Regions from separate parts of the Homo sapiens genome. Here all the other regions are linked to region 1. The links are contacts of gene promoters, found by promoter capture Hi-C in blood cells and fetal thymus (Javierre and others, 2016). All regions are on one chromosome and are shown on one strand. Each heading gives the region's core, a stretch centred on a gene start or on the middle of the fragment in contact. The rest is flanking DNA. Distances are from core to core; before and after follow the strand shown.

Region 1 (4,647 bases), core at 964-3,463:
ATATTATATCTCATTCAGACACATAGGCAACATATAAAAGTGGTTAAGAATTTTGGGGGGGTATACTGGAATCATCCTGCAAATATGATACTTAGGCCAGTTACTTAAACCATCTTTGCTTCTGTGTCACCTTATCTAAAATGCAAAGAATGATACACCTACCTCAAAAGATTTACATGAGATGACACATATTTGTAAAACCTGGCACCTAATTAACTGCTTAGTAGCAGTATTCCCAGTGGGACTGGAATTTATTACTGGGATCAAACATACTTATATAGTAAATATCTGTTCAATTAATGAAGAAGAAAATTCCATTAAGAAATCTGGAATTTTTACATTCCAGATAGTCATACAGATAGTCATACAGATAGACTAGAAAATAAAGATCCAGTTTTCTGGAACATATTCATTCTGACAGAACAGGAATGACTTTAGAATTTCATTCAAAAATACTAAGTGCTACCACTTTGTTATACTCTGGTGCCATAAGAAATGGTGAGTTGTATGACAAGCGAGCCTTTAAAGAGAATTGAAGGAGGTTTCTCTCAGTACCTAACCATGATTTTAAAGGTAAAAGAAGTTGAGAGAATCAATCACATTCTGATGTAGTCACCTACCCTACAAATCAATAGCACCCTAGGAAGAGCAGACCAATCTACATAGGACATTTTGTCTCCCTGACTTAACCAAGATAATGAACAGTGAAACATTAAGACAGGTATCCTTGAGAGGGAACTGTGGGGTGATGGACAAATCCATTATCTTGTTTTGTGTGGTGTTTACATAAGTATATGCAATTGCCAAAACTAATAAAATTAAGCCTGTAAAAATTGTGCATTTCATTCTATGCTAGTTATACCATTAAAAACTGGTTCATTTAAAAAATGCTCCCTACTTTTCTCACTGGAAAATGTAATAATTTACAAATAGTATAATCAAATCTATATTCACTATAAAATTAACTACAGGATGATCAGGTCCAACTAGAAATATTTTGGATAAGGTATTCTTTTAACTTTTCAGTGATAGGTGATGGAAAAGCAATTATCTGAGATCACAGACTACTAGAATTCCTCATGTTCTAATTTTTGCAGAATCTAGGAATGAACACGCACCATTTAGCCACATTTCTTTCACCTGTTGGTCAGAACTTTATGTTTGAGGATTTTCAATGGGAAATTGCTTGTTTGTGTCACTGGTTGTCTTATGTTATGTTTGGAGGAAAAGGGCTTGGGAGAAAAACAGGACAGATAATACAGAGTGTTCAACTAGAAATCCCCAAATCAGGATTCTAGCTCTAGGATTAAAATGTACAGGGCAACTTTGGACACGGTACTTGAATTTTCTGTGCTTGTGATATTCTGCTATCACAAGGCTGTCATAGGATAAAGTGTATTAATTTGTGGAAATACTTTGAAAAGTCAAAGCAATATATTATTCTAACATGATACCATAGACATAGTCAAGCCCCAAACTTAATCCTGACAGTTATAGGTTCTTGGAAAGCCCCCATACATATCTCACTTTAACTTGAATAGAATGTTCAAGAGGGTGGAAACAGGTAGGTTACCCTCTCTCTTTAAAAAAGGGGGTGAGAGGGTGATGTGTTTTCCACGATTGAACTTCCAGAACTCTAGATTTCTGGAATTTATCTTCCAAAAGACTTGGTATAATCTGGTAAATATTGAAAGAGGAGTGGGGAATAAGGCCCGGATTAAGATAAATTCTTCCTGTCCCTAGTGTTGTCAACAATCAATGAGGAGATGAATTGCTCCTGGAGTACAGGAAGCTTGACTTCTAAAATATTGTTAAACAAGCAATCAGAAAACATTTACTGTATTCTTTCACAAATCTTTGGCACACACCCAAGAGCTCCCTCAAACTGCGTGCATCCCAGGAATGAGTGAGAGCAAGGCCTAGATGTCTTCAGATCATCCATCACAGCTCCCTCCCGCCTCCATTCCAGGTCCAGCGGAGCGGCCTCGGGCAATCACACCCTTCCCTGACCTCCCCCTCCCCAGGGCCGCCAGCCTCACCAGCTGTTCCCGGCTGCTGGAGCTCCGATCGGTTGGCGCCCGGCGGCCCCGAACATTAACGACACCCGGGAGCCTGGCCTCGAAGCTCAGGCCCGTGAACAGACTCCAACTACAACAGCACCGGCGACTTCCAAAGAGCAGTTCAGCATTTTGAGATGAGCTTCCGGAAGCCGACAGGCGGCGGAAACCGGATGCCCGGAGCAACCATTAGTTCTCCGCGTTTACTGCTTTCCCCTTCCTATAATCCCCTCTTCCTACTCGCAGTAGAGACAGAGACAAATAAATTAAACTTTTGTGCTACACAGAAATTTCTTAATTCTCTTTTTAGTGCTCTTAAAGTCAAAGCAGCATGAGAGAAAAGAGGAGTGAACAAAAAGTCGAACCCCGGGAGTGAGCTATGGTTTAGCCCAGTTACCATGGAGACCGGTAGTAACACCAGTTGTAAACCCAAGGCCAAGAGACCATGGCCACGTTAGCCCGGCTGCAAGCTAGGTCGTCGACTGTAGGAAATCAGTACTACTTTAGGAACAGGTAAGTCAGGAAGAGAAGGATCGCGTAAAGGGCGGGCGTGACTTTATACCAGTTGTTCCTCAGCGGGAGTTTCCAATTAACGATTTAACGATTACCCTAATTCATTAAGTAGTACCCAATTCTTCCCTTAATGGGCTGCAAACATAATTGGGAGTTTCTGTTACCATACAACGAAATTCTAAATAGAGAGGGGCCGTAGATATTCAGTGTGAGATGATTTAAGGAAACTCCCAGCATAGATAAAATTGTAAAGTGCTTTTTTTCTTCGACATCACCACTCTGCAATTTGATGAAACCTATGTTCAATACCCTGACTGGGGGTCACCCTGACTCACTAGCCCAATGAACTCAGATTGTGTCCCATCTACCTAGGGATTTGAGCCTCCGTTATTTTACAAACATCACTAAACTCAATTGTTCTATGACTCATTCGCCTTTTTAAAATGAACGTATCTGCCGGGTGTGGTGGCTCACGCCTGTAATCCCAGCACTTTGGGAGGCCGAGGGGGGCGAATCACCTGAGGCCAGGAGTTCTAGACCAACCAGGACAACATGGTGAAACCCCGTCTCTATTAAAAATACAAAAACTAGCCGGGCATGGTGGCACATGCCTGTCATCCCAGCTAGTCCGGAGGCTGAGGCAGGAGAATCGCTTGAACCTGGGAGGCAGAGGTTGCAGTGACCCGACATTGTACCACTGCACTCCAGCCTGGGTGACAAATTAAGACCCTGTCTCAATAAATAAATAAATAAATATAAATAAAATAAAATAAAATGAAAGTGTCTAAACCATTCTGACACGGTAACTAGTACCAATATATTAATTAATAGATAACGGGTAAGAAAACCACTAGCAGTCTTCTTCATCTCCCTACAGCCAAACTTCTTGCCCAGGAAGAGTTTCATTTTAAAGAAGCATTGCCCCAGGAGTTTTTGTAACTTAAAAGAAACTGCAAAAAAGTGAATTAGACTATTATGGAATACAGTGACATGACAGACCAATGGAAAATATGTCAATGAGATAGGGTCTTGCTGAGCTGCTTTTATTCTAACGTTTATCTCACCTACTACATCATTATTTCACAACGTACCTCTCTTACAGCACTGATCACAATTCAATTTTACATTCTTTTATGAGATAATATCTATCTCCCCTCTTAAACTAGTAGCAGAGACAGTGTCTCTTATTTTGCTCACCATTATTTTTGTCTCCAACGTCTATGATAGCCCCATACAAATAATAGTAACACAATAATTGTTGAAGACTCACATTAATGAATTTTTCAATAAATCTGTAGCCCTGGTTTAAGTAAACATACTAACAATAGCTAAACATAGAAATTATCTATTTATTTAGAGTATGTGGCAGGTGCTGTATTTATGACATATATAAATGAAATAAGCCCCATCCATCATGATGTTCACATCCTTGTATGGAATATAGGCTTTTAAAAAATAATTACAATACTAGCTGGGCTCAGTGGCTCATGCCTGTAATCCCAGCACTTTGGGAGGCAGAGGCAGATGGATCACTTGAGGGCAGAAGTTCCAGACCAGACTGGCCAACATGGCAAAACCCTGTCTCTCCTAAAATTACAAAAATCAGCCAGGCATGGTGGTGCACGCCTGTAGTCCCAGCTACTCTGGAAGCTGAGGCAAGAGAATCAGTTGAACCCAGGAGGCAGAGGTTGTAGTGAGCCGAGATCGCAATACTGCACTCCAGCCTGGGCGACAGAGCAAGACTCTGTCTCAAATAAATAAATAAATAAATAAATAAATAAATAAATAATAACAACAATAGAGTAACATGGACAGAAAGGGAAACAACCAGTATTTTTTGAGGACTGATTATATATGAGGGATTGCACCAGGAACAACTACATATGATATTTCACTTGGTTATCACAATGTTATAAGTTAATGTAGAAATTATCTATTTATTAGATAATCTATATTTTTAGAGCTATAGAACAATGTTCTAGAAAAGCCTGATGAAGTGCCAAACAAACAATTAATTGGCCAGGCACAGTGGCTCAGGCCTGTAATCCCAGCACGTTGGGAGGCCAGGGCAGGCGGA
Region 2 (4,871 bases), core at 804-3,303, 1.0 Mb before region 1:
GTTTCCCATAATTCACTGAGTCAGTCAGTCAAAAAGAATTAATTTAATGCCTACTGTGTGCAGAGAAGAGCATATGGTATACAAAGACACAATTCTGACACTCAAAGCTTTTGAAATCTAGGTAAGGAAGAAAACATACCTATAGAAAGAAATATTAAATAATCAATATTTAAAATAATATGTTATAAATTGAATGCTTGAGTGCAAGAGGGATCTGGGAACTTAGGTGAAGTTATGGGTATGGTACATGTAGTTAAAAAAGAAGATTATCTGAAGGAGATTGGTTGCAAATCAGATTGCAAAGTGTCAGAAAATGAAAAATATTAGAGGTTTAGATATTCATAGGGGGTTCCAATAAATTTTTTCTGATTTATTTTATAATCAACCCACAATTAAAGATCTTGAAAATTTAACCAGAGACACAAGAGATGAAATATACCAAAGCTAGTACTGGTTCACAAGTCATTTCAAAAGAAAAAGTAAAACCACATCAGAAAGTATATGTCCTAACATCTCACAACAAGAAGAACTTTACACAGTGTACTTTCCTTACAATTTCTTGAAGCTTTGCTATTTACAATTTCTAATATAATTAATGGGGTGTTTATTATGCTTAATGCTAAAAATCCTCTGATCTAATTTTGAAAATGAATTATTCCACTTAACAAGGAAAAAAAATCCTTTCGATTTTTACCCAAGTGCTACAGTTCTCCAAGTATTCCATATTTTCAGCTATTATCCCTTTCTTACAAAGAGCCCACTTAATAATGTTCACTCTAACAACCTCATTTATTTTCCAGAAAATTAACTCAGTTTCAACCCTGATTAATGATTTCATCTAAATGAATCAAATTAAAAATTGAAAATTATATTTCAAAAGCCAAAGAAAAAAAAATTGACCATTTCCAGTTAACAAATGATCCTTTCAAATATTAAAAGATGACCATGAAGAGTGCGTGATAGTAATGAAATCTGGCTCGGGCCTGCTGCTTATCTGGAGTTCATGGAGGAGGAGAATTAACAGGAAAAAAAAAAAAAGAAAGAGAAGAAAAAGGTACCCTATGCATTTTTAACACGGAAATCCCTTGGGACACCAAAGTGACTTCCACTTAGGCTTCGCCTATAATCAGTGTACCAAAATAATATGAGCATTTCCCTGTTAATTAAAACTGGGCTGGAGATGCCCCTCAGCAGAAGGGGGATTAAGAAGTCACACACACTAATAGCCCCTGTTAACAAAACCTAAACCGTGCAAGAATGCTTCATGCTATGATGTCTTCTCTAGGAGCCGGAAGCAGTCCATGAGGAAAACAAGCAACTAATTAGGGAGAAACTTCTGGTCTGATACGTTATTTTTCTTTTAAATCCATTTTGGCCGGGGGTTGGGGAAGGGAAGGGTGACTAGGCAGAGCAGAGAGGATTTTTAGGACACTGAAACCATTCTATGTAATACTATAATGGTAGATACGTGTCATTATACATTTGTCAAAACCCACAGAATGTATAACACCAAGAGTGAACCCCCACATAAACTATGGACTTCTTTGGGTAATAATGACGTATCCATGCGGATTCATCGATTGTTAACAAATGTACCAGTCTACTGGGAAATGTTGATAATGAGGGAGGGTATGGATGAAGGGGGGCGGGTCAGGGGATATTAACTCTGTACTTTTTGCTCAATTTTGCTGTCAGCCTAAAAGTGCTGGGTTTTTGTTTTGTTTTGTTTTTTAACTTTTAAGTTCAGGGGTACATGTGCAGCTTGTTCCATGGGTAAAATTGTGTCATGTGGGTTTGCTGTGCAGGTTATTTCATCACCCAGGTATTAAGCCTAGTACCCATTAGTTATTTTAAAAATAAAGTCTTAAAAAAAAATCCCAAATAAATAAATCCACTCTTGAGGTATACAGATGACTGCATTTATCTGAAGTCCTGTGAAAAAACTTTACAATTAGGGACCATGTCGTTTTCACCCAGATTTCCGGATGTAATTCCGTGTTTTGAAATGTACGCACAAGAGTAAACAATGCAGAATGATCAGCCTCACAGCGGGTCACAGGACACAACCGCCGCGCTCTGGTTGGACGCAGGCTGCATCCTGTTTCCCGGACACATTTATTCAGCCCAATCTTTCCTGTCTGAACACAGACTGTTGATGATAAAATAGCATCTCAAATTATGAGGGAGAAAGAGCTGCTTCGGCGTTCCTCCCCGGTTCTCTGCCTGGATTGGGCTCCCGTGGGTTGCTGAGGCCCTCGCGGAGGCCTAGGAAGCCCGGCAGCGCGGGCGGCAGCAGCGGGTTGGGGAGCAAGGCCGGCTTGGAACGCGGGCTCCTGCCCACTGCCACCCGCAGGCTGCCCCGGGCTCCCGGGCGGGCGCTCGGCCAGGGGCTCTGCTCGCTCCATGGACAGCTGGGTGGAAAGGACGCCCCGTGAAGGACACCCGGCCGTCGGACCGCGCCCACCCCTGGGCCTCCCAGGGGCTCCCTCCGCAGACTCCCAGGGACTTCCTGGGAGCCACCGCGGAGGGCGCTGCGCGCGTCCGGAGCCGACGCCGGGCTTCAAACAGAAACCAAAGCCCGCTCCAACGCCGCGAAGGAGGGGGGCTCCAAGCATCCTAGAAAAGAAAGCTGGAGGGAGCGCATCAGAGACACAAGTGCGGATAAGACTTAACACATTTCCTGAAGAGGATTCCTTGTCGCGAGTTGTCTTGGTTATGACAGAGGAAGAAGACTTCAAAGTGAATAAGCAAGGGGGTGCCCTTAATCAGGGCAGAAATGTGGTGGCTTTGGGATTTACCTATTTCGTACAAGTTGCGTTCTTTTCAGTGGCGTATTTCCCAGGTCCCTTGCAAGAGCTGTTGGACCCACTCCCCTCTTGCCCACAAGTTGGAATATTATTTCATTAATCACAACAGGAGGCAGATGTTACTTAAGATTTAGAAAGAGAAATAAAGGCATAGATGAAGGGGCTTGCATCAAGTTCAAAAAAGAGTATTATGTTTATAGCTCCTTAATTATTATTGGTTATCTGCCAGGCTTTCTATAATATACTTTGTAACATTCTGGAATTTTTAAAAAGTACCCTACTTATCTTTAAACACTGAAATCCATTCAAAGCCCTACAACCGATAGGGCCTTTGGGAGCGTTATTAAAATCCTCTTAATTAACAACAACAAAGTGAAGGCTTAAAATGGTTGAATGACTTGCCCAAGATCACACAGCTAGGAAATAAGCATTGGATAAAAATGTATGGAATGTCTGAGTAAATCCTAGCCTTTCTGTGTTCTACTTAAATTCCTCAATTTTAAATATAGTTGTTATATCACACACAGTTAGGGGTATTATCCCCATTAGCAAAGAAAGTGCCGTAGTAAAGGCAGCTTTCAAAATTTTCAGGGATTTTGTAGAATCACTGAGGAGTAACTATGTTGTACATGGTTCCTCTTCCATTACATTTACTAGAAGAGGCTAAAGGGTCACACACCCTCACTTGTCATGAGCCTGAAAGACTTTGTGACTGTTCTAGGTACATACATGTAACAAGCTTTTGATACAAAACATAATGCGAAAAATAAAATGTTGTTTGTGAAGGCAAAGATTCATCAATACCAAGTATAATCTGTTTCTTTACATTTTTCAAACAATAAGACTGAGATAAGAAAATCAGAACTAGGGCCAACTGTAACAGGTGCTAATAGAATTTTTCCATGAACTATTGTGTCAGTTTAATCCCCAGCCTGACCTGGAACACTTTGGCCATTTTAACACCAAGCTCCCCGGATTATCTATTCTGAGTTAAATGTTCCCAAGTGGATTGGTGATTGTGCAGCGGAGAGAAGATCTGCAAGGATTATTCTAAAATTTCACAAGAATTTCCCTGACATACACTATATATTACTATGAACTATGTTTTCAAAATAATGATACAATGAATTGCCTAGCCAAGCAACATCTTCACAGTTTAACCGAACACTGAAATGATTTTCCACAAGCTCAATGTTCAGAAAATAAATGCAAATTGGCTATAAATTAATTTAGTCTTTAAATTAATACTTGATCAATAATCTGACATTGTTTTCATTGTCTACATGAAGAAAACTAAGACAAAACAGTTTTTCAGCTGTATTATAACTTAGTGTTAAACTACATCTATATAGCCCCATCTATATAGATGGAGAGACTCTTTTAATTCAATTGCTATAGATAGCAAAATCTAATAATAGAGATCTTAAAGCATTATCTTTTTACTTGAATTACTGAATTTAGTTGCTATCTACACTGATCAGAATACCACATTAATTTTCTTGATTTTATATTTGATATTACAAAAAATCCCATTTTAATGATTAAAGATGCTGAAATGACATTTTTGAATGAAATTAATCTATGTAGCTTAAAAATATTTCATTTTCATTAGCATTCCCTCTTATTTTTTTAACAATAAACTCCTTATTTTAAAATATAACTCAAAGCCCATGTTCTACACAAAATTTTTCAAAATTATCTCAGGCATCCATTCTCCAAAAGACTGATACAATCTGTGAACTGACCCTAACTTTCATTGAAGTAGCATGCAAATATTTGTTATAACTTTACCTATCTGCCTTATCTGGTTTGACTTAGCTAGATGTGGAAAGATTTGTACTTAATCCTCACCAGAAAAAAAGACACTATTGAATGCTAAAGACCCTGTGAATATTCTACAAAAGAGCTTTCATTGCAGATCAGTTTAAGTCGGAGACATAAGCAAAAGATAAAAAACCAAAGACAGTTATTCACTGACCTCAGTAATTTTCAAGCCATTCTATAAAACTTGGAGATTCCCATTAAAGAAGACAGAAAAATCAGCCGGGCACCGTGGCTCACGCC
Region 3 (4,664 bases), core at 498-2,997, 1.5 Mb after region 1:
GGCTAGCCCCACTACCATGGGCCAAAGCACTCTGGGATACTACATAAACCTCAAAGGCAGTCTAGGCGACAAGGACTGCAATTCCTGGGCAAGTCTTGGTGCGTGCTGGGCTAGAAGGCAGTAGACTTGGGTTGACCTAATGAGACACCAGCCAGGTGGACAAGGGAGTGCTTGCATCACCCCTCCCCCAACCCAGGCAGTGCAGCTCAGTAACCTGGGGGAGACTCCTTCCTTCCGCTGGCAGTAACTAGGCAGTGGTCACCATGGGTCTTGAGCAAGACCCAGTGCTGTGCTATCTTTGGGTGTGACTCAGCACAGTCTCAGTGTGGTAGTCACAGTGGAGCTTGCATCACCCCTCCACAAGAGGAGTACAAGCAAGTGCAGACTGCAAATATTACAATAAATATCTAACTATTCAATGCCCAGACACTCACAAACATCCAAAAGCATCAGGACCATTCAGGAAATCATGACCTCACTAAACAAACTGAAAAAGTCACCACTGATCAATCCAAGAGTGACAGAAAATTCAAAATAGAAATTTTGAGGAAGCTCAATGAAATTTAAGATAACACAGAGAAGGAATTCAGAATCCTATCAGATAAATTTAACGAAGATACTGAAATAATTTTTGAAACATGTAGAAATTCTGAGCTGAAAAATTGAATTGACATACAGAAGAATGCATCAGAGTCTCCCAACAGCAGAACTGATCAAGCAGAAGAAAGAATCAGGCTATTTGAAAATACACAGTCAAAAGAAACAAAAGAATAGAAAAGAATGAAGCTTGCCTATAAGTTCTAGAAAATATCTCAAAAGGGCAAATTAAGATTTACTGGCCTTAAAGAGGAGGTACAGAGATCAAGGTATAAATTTTATTCAAAGAGATAATAACAGATAACTTTTCAAACCTAGAGAAATATATCAAAATTCAAGTATAGATGGGTTGTAGAACATCAAGTAGATTTCATCCAAATAAAACTACCTCAAGACATTTAATAATCAAACTTCCAAAGGTCAAGGATAAAGAAAGGATTCTAAAAGCAGCAAGAGAAAAGACACAAATAACATACCTTACAATCTAGGAGAGAGTGGCATTACATATTTAAAGTGCTGAAGGAAAAAAGACTTTTATCCTAGAAGAGTACACCCAGTGAAAATACCCATTAAACATGAAGAAGAAATAGGCTTTCCCAGACAAACAAAAGCTGAGGGATTTCATCAACACCAGAACTGCCCTACAAGAAATGCTAAAGGGAGCTGTTCAATCTAAAATGAAAGGACACTAATGAGCAATAGGAAGTCATCTGAAGGTACAAAACTCACTGGTAATAGTAAGTACACAAACAAACACACAATATTATAACACTGTAATTGTGGTACGTGAACTATTGATATCTTGAATACGAAGACTAAAAGATAAACCTATCAAAAATAATAACTACAACTTTTAAGACATAGTATAATAAAACGTAGATGGAAGCAACAAAAAGTTAGAAAGCAGGGGGATTAAGTTAAAGTGTAGAGCTTTTATTAGTTTTCTCTTTCGTTGTTGTGAGTTTGGATTGTTTTGTATCCAGTGCTAAGTTGTGATCAGTTTAAAATAATGAGTTCTAAGATGTTATTTCCAAACCTCATGGTCACCTCAAATCATAAAACCTACAACAGATACACAAAAAACTGAAAATCAGTAAATTAAAACAACCCACCAAAAAAAATTAACTTCCCAAAAAGGAATACAGGGAAGAAGGAAGGAAGAAAGAGAAGAGCACACATAAAACACCCAGAAAACAAATAACAAAATGGCAGTAGTAAGTCCTTACTTACTAATAATAACATTGAATGTAAATGGACTAAACTCTCCAATCACAAGACATAGAGAGCCTGAACAATAACAATAATAAAAAAACAAGCTCTAACAATCTGGTAACTATAAGAAACACGCTTCACTTATAAAGACTAACTTAGACTTAAAATATAGGAACTGAAAAATATTGCATGAAAATGGAAACAAAAAAAGCAGAAGTAGCTATATTTACATCAGACAAAATAGATTTCAAAACAAAAACTATAAACAGAGACAAAGAAGGTCATTATATAATGATAAAGAAGTCAACTTAGCAAGAGGGTGTAACACTTGTAAATATATATACATTCAACACTGGAACACTCAAACATATTAAGTAAATATTATTAGAGCTAAAGAGAGAGATAGACCCTAATACAATATTAGCTGGAGACTTCAACACCCCACTTTCAGCATTGGACAGAACCACTACACAGAAAACCACCACCAACAACAACATTGGACTTAATCTACATTATATACCAAATGGACCTAATATATATTTACACAATCTTTCATTTAAGAGCTGCAGAATACACGTTCTTCTCCTCAAGGCATGGCTCATTCTTAAGGATAGATCACATGTTAGAACAAAAAACAAGTCTTAAAAAATTAAAAAATTGAAAAAATATCAAGTGTCTCATCTTTCCAGTTTTATTCTCAATGGAATAAAACTAGAAATAAATAATTAGAAAAATATCAGAAACTATACAAACACATGGAAAATAAACAATATGCTCTAGAGTGACCAGTGGGTCAATGAAGAAATTAAGAATAAAATTTAAAAATTCCTTGAAACAAACAAAAATGGAAACACAATATATCAAAACCTATGGAATGCAGCAAAAGCAATACTAAGAAGAAAGCTTATAGCAATAAGCACTCCACATCAAAAAAGCAGATAATCCTCAAATTAACAACCTAATGATGCATCTTAAAGAACTAGAAAACAAAGAGCAAACCAAAGCCAATATTAGTAGGAGAAAAGAAATAATAAAGATCAAAGCAGAAATAAATGAAATTGAAACAAAACAAACAATACAAAATATCAATTAAACAAAAAGGTGGCTTATTTTAAAAAAATAAAATTGATAAACATTTAGCCAAAGACATAAAGATAGAAGACCCAAATAAATAAAATGAGAGATAAAAAGGAGGTATTACAACTGATACTGCAGTTCAGAGAATCATTAGAGACTACTATGAGCAACTACATGCCAGTAAATTGGAAAACCTAGAAGAAATAGATTGAATCCTAGACACATACAACCTACCAAGACCGAATCATGAAGATTTCCAAAATCTAAATAGACCAATAACAAGTAATGAGTTCAACACCATATTAAAAAGTATCCCAGTAAAGAAAAATCAGAGACCCAAAGCCTTCAACTGCTAAATTTCACCCAAAATTTAAAGAACTAATATTAATCTAATCCTATTCAAACAATTCCAAAAAAATAAAGAAGCAAATACTTCCTTACTCATTCTGTGAGGCCAGTATTACCCTGATACCAAAATCAGACAGAGACATCAAAATAAGAAAACTACAGGCCAATGTTCCACATGAATACTGATGCAAAAATCCTCAACAAAATACTCACAAACCAAATTCAACAACACATTTAAAAGATAATTCATCATGACCAAGAGGGATTTATGCCAGGGATGCAAGAATGATTCAGCAAATGCAAATAAATCAATGTGATATATCATTTCAAAAGAATGAAGGACAAAAACATGCAATCATTTCAACCGAAGGTAAAAAGCATTAGATAAAATTCAACCTCCTTTCATAATAAAAGCCCTAAAAATGTGGTATAGAAGTATATATCTCAACACAATAAAAACCATATATGACAGACACACAGCTAGCATCACACTGAATACAGAAAAACTGAAAACTTTTTCTCTAAGATCTGGAACAAACCGAAACATCCACTTTCACCACTATTATTCAACATAGTACTGGAAGTTCTAGTTAGAGCAATCAGACAAGAAAAAGATATAAAGAACATCCAAATTGAAAAGAAGTAAGTCATCTTTGTTTGCAGATGATATGGTCTTATATCTGAAAAATACCTAAAGACCTTAACAAAAATCTATTAGAACCAATAAACAAATTCAGCAAAGTTGAGGGATACAAAATCAACATATAAAAATCAATAGTATTTACATATTACATCAGTGAACAATCTGAAAAAGAAATCAAGAAAGTAATCCCAGTTACAATAGCTACAAATAAAATAACATACCTAGAAATGAATTTAACTAAAGAATTTAAAGATATCTACAATGCACTCTATAAAACATTGATGCAAGACATTGAGGAGACCAGAAAAAAATGAAAAGATACTCTATGCTCATGGATTGGAAGAATCAATATTGTTAAAATGTCTGCACTATTCAAAGTAATCTACAGATTCAGTGCAATCATTATTAAAATACCAATACAATCTTCACATTAATAGAAAAAAATCATTCCAAAATTCATGTGAAATCACAAAAGACCCAGAATAGCCAAAGTCATTCTGAGCAAAAAGAACAAAATGAGAGGAAGCACATTCTCTGATTTTGAATTATTCTATAGAGCTATAGTAACCAAAACAGCATGGTACTGGCATAAAAACAGACACATAGACCAAAGAAACAGAATAGATAAATCAGAAACAAATCCATACAGCTATGTTGAATTTATTTTTGACAAAGGCGCCAAGAACATACAGTGGAGAAAGACAATCTCTTAAATAAATTGTGCTAGGAAAACTAGACGTCTATAGGCAGAAGAATGAAGCTAGAACCCTATTTTTCATCATCTACA

Evidence for each region. The method cuts DNA at HindIII sites, captures the fragments that hold promoters and counts their contacts. A CHiCAGO score of 5 or more calls a contact.
Region 2: a fragment that was not itself captured here is called in contact with the fragment with the promoter of GPATCH2 in region 1 in 1 of 17 cell types (erythroblasts); the score reaches 9.9 in erythroblasts.
Region 3: a fragment that was not itself captured here is called in contact with the fragment with the promoter of GPATCH2 in region 1 in 1 of 17 cell types (monocytes); the score reaches 5.4 in monocytes.

Annotation. Positions count from the first base shown.
Region 1 is chr1:217,628,877-217,633,523 of GRCh38, forward strand. GPATCH2 (G-patch domain containing 2) reads right to left here and starts at 2,214. Exons shown (of 10, transcript NM_018040.5): 1 at 2,040-2,214. The coding sequence starts at 2,095. SPATA17 (spermatogenesis associated 17) reads left to right here and starts at 2,468. Exons shown (of 11, transcript NM_138796.4): 1 at 2,468-2,570. The coding sequence starts at 2,503. RefSeq lists enhancers at 2,153-2,222, 2,253-2,492. The HindIII fragment of the contact is 9,292 bases long and covers 1,791-4,647 here.
Region 2 is chr1:216,598,799-216,603,669 of GRCh38, forward strand. All of the region lies in intron 3 of ESRRG (estrogen related receptor gamma), which reads right to left. Among named protein-coding and RNA genes, the nearest start is that of ESRRG, 120 kb to the right of the region's middle. RefSeq lists enhancers at 1-166, 1,708-2,276, 2,122-2,221, 2,602-2,701 and a silencer at 2,322-2,501. The HindIII fragment of the contact is 2,981 bases long and covers 564-3,544 here.
Region 3 is chr1:219,088,850-219,093,513 of GRCh38, forward strand. All of the region lies in intron 3 of LYPLAL1-DT (LYPLAL1 divergent transcript), which reads right to left. Among named protein-coding and RNA genes, the nearest start is that of LYPLAL1-DT, 83 kb to the right of the region's middle. RefSeq lists an enhancer at 373-422. The HindIII fragment of the contact is 1,926 bases long and covers 785-2,710 here.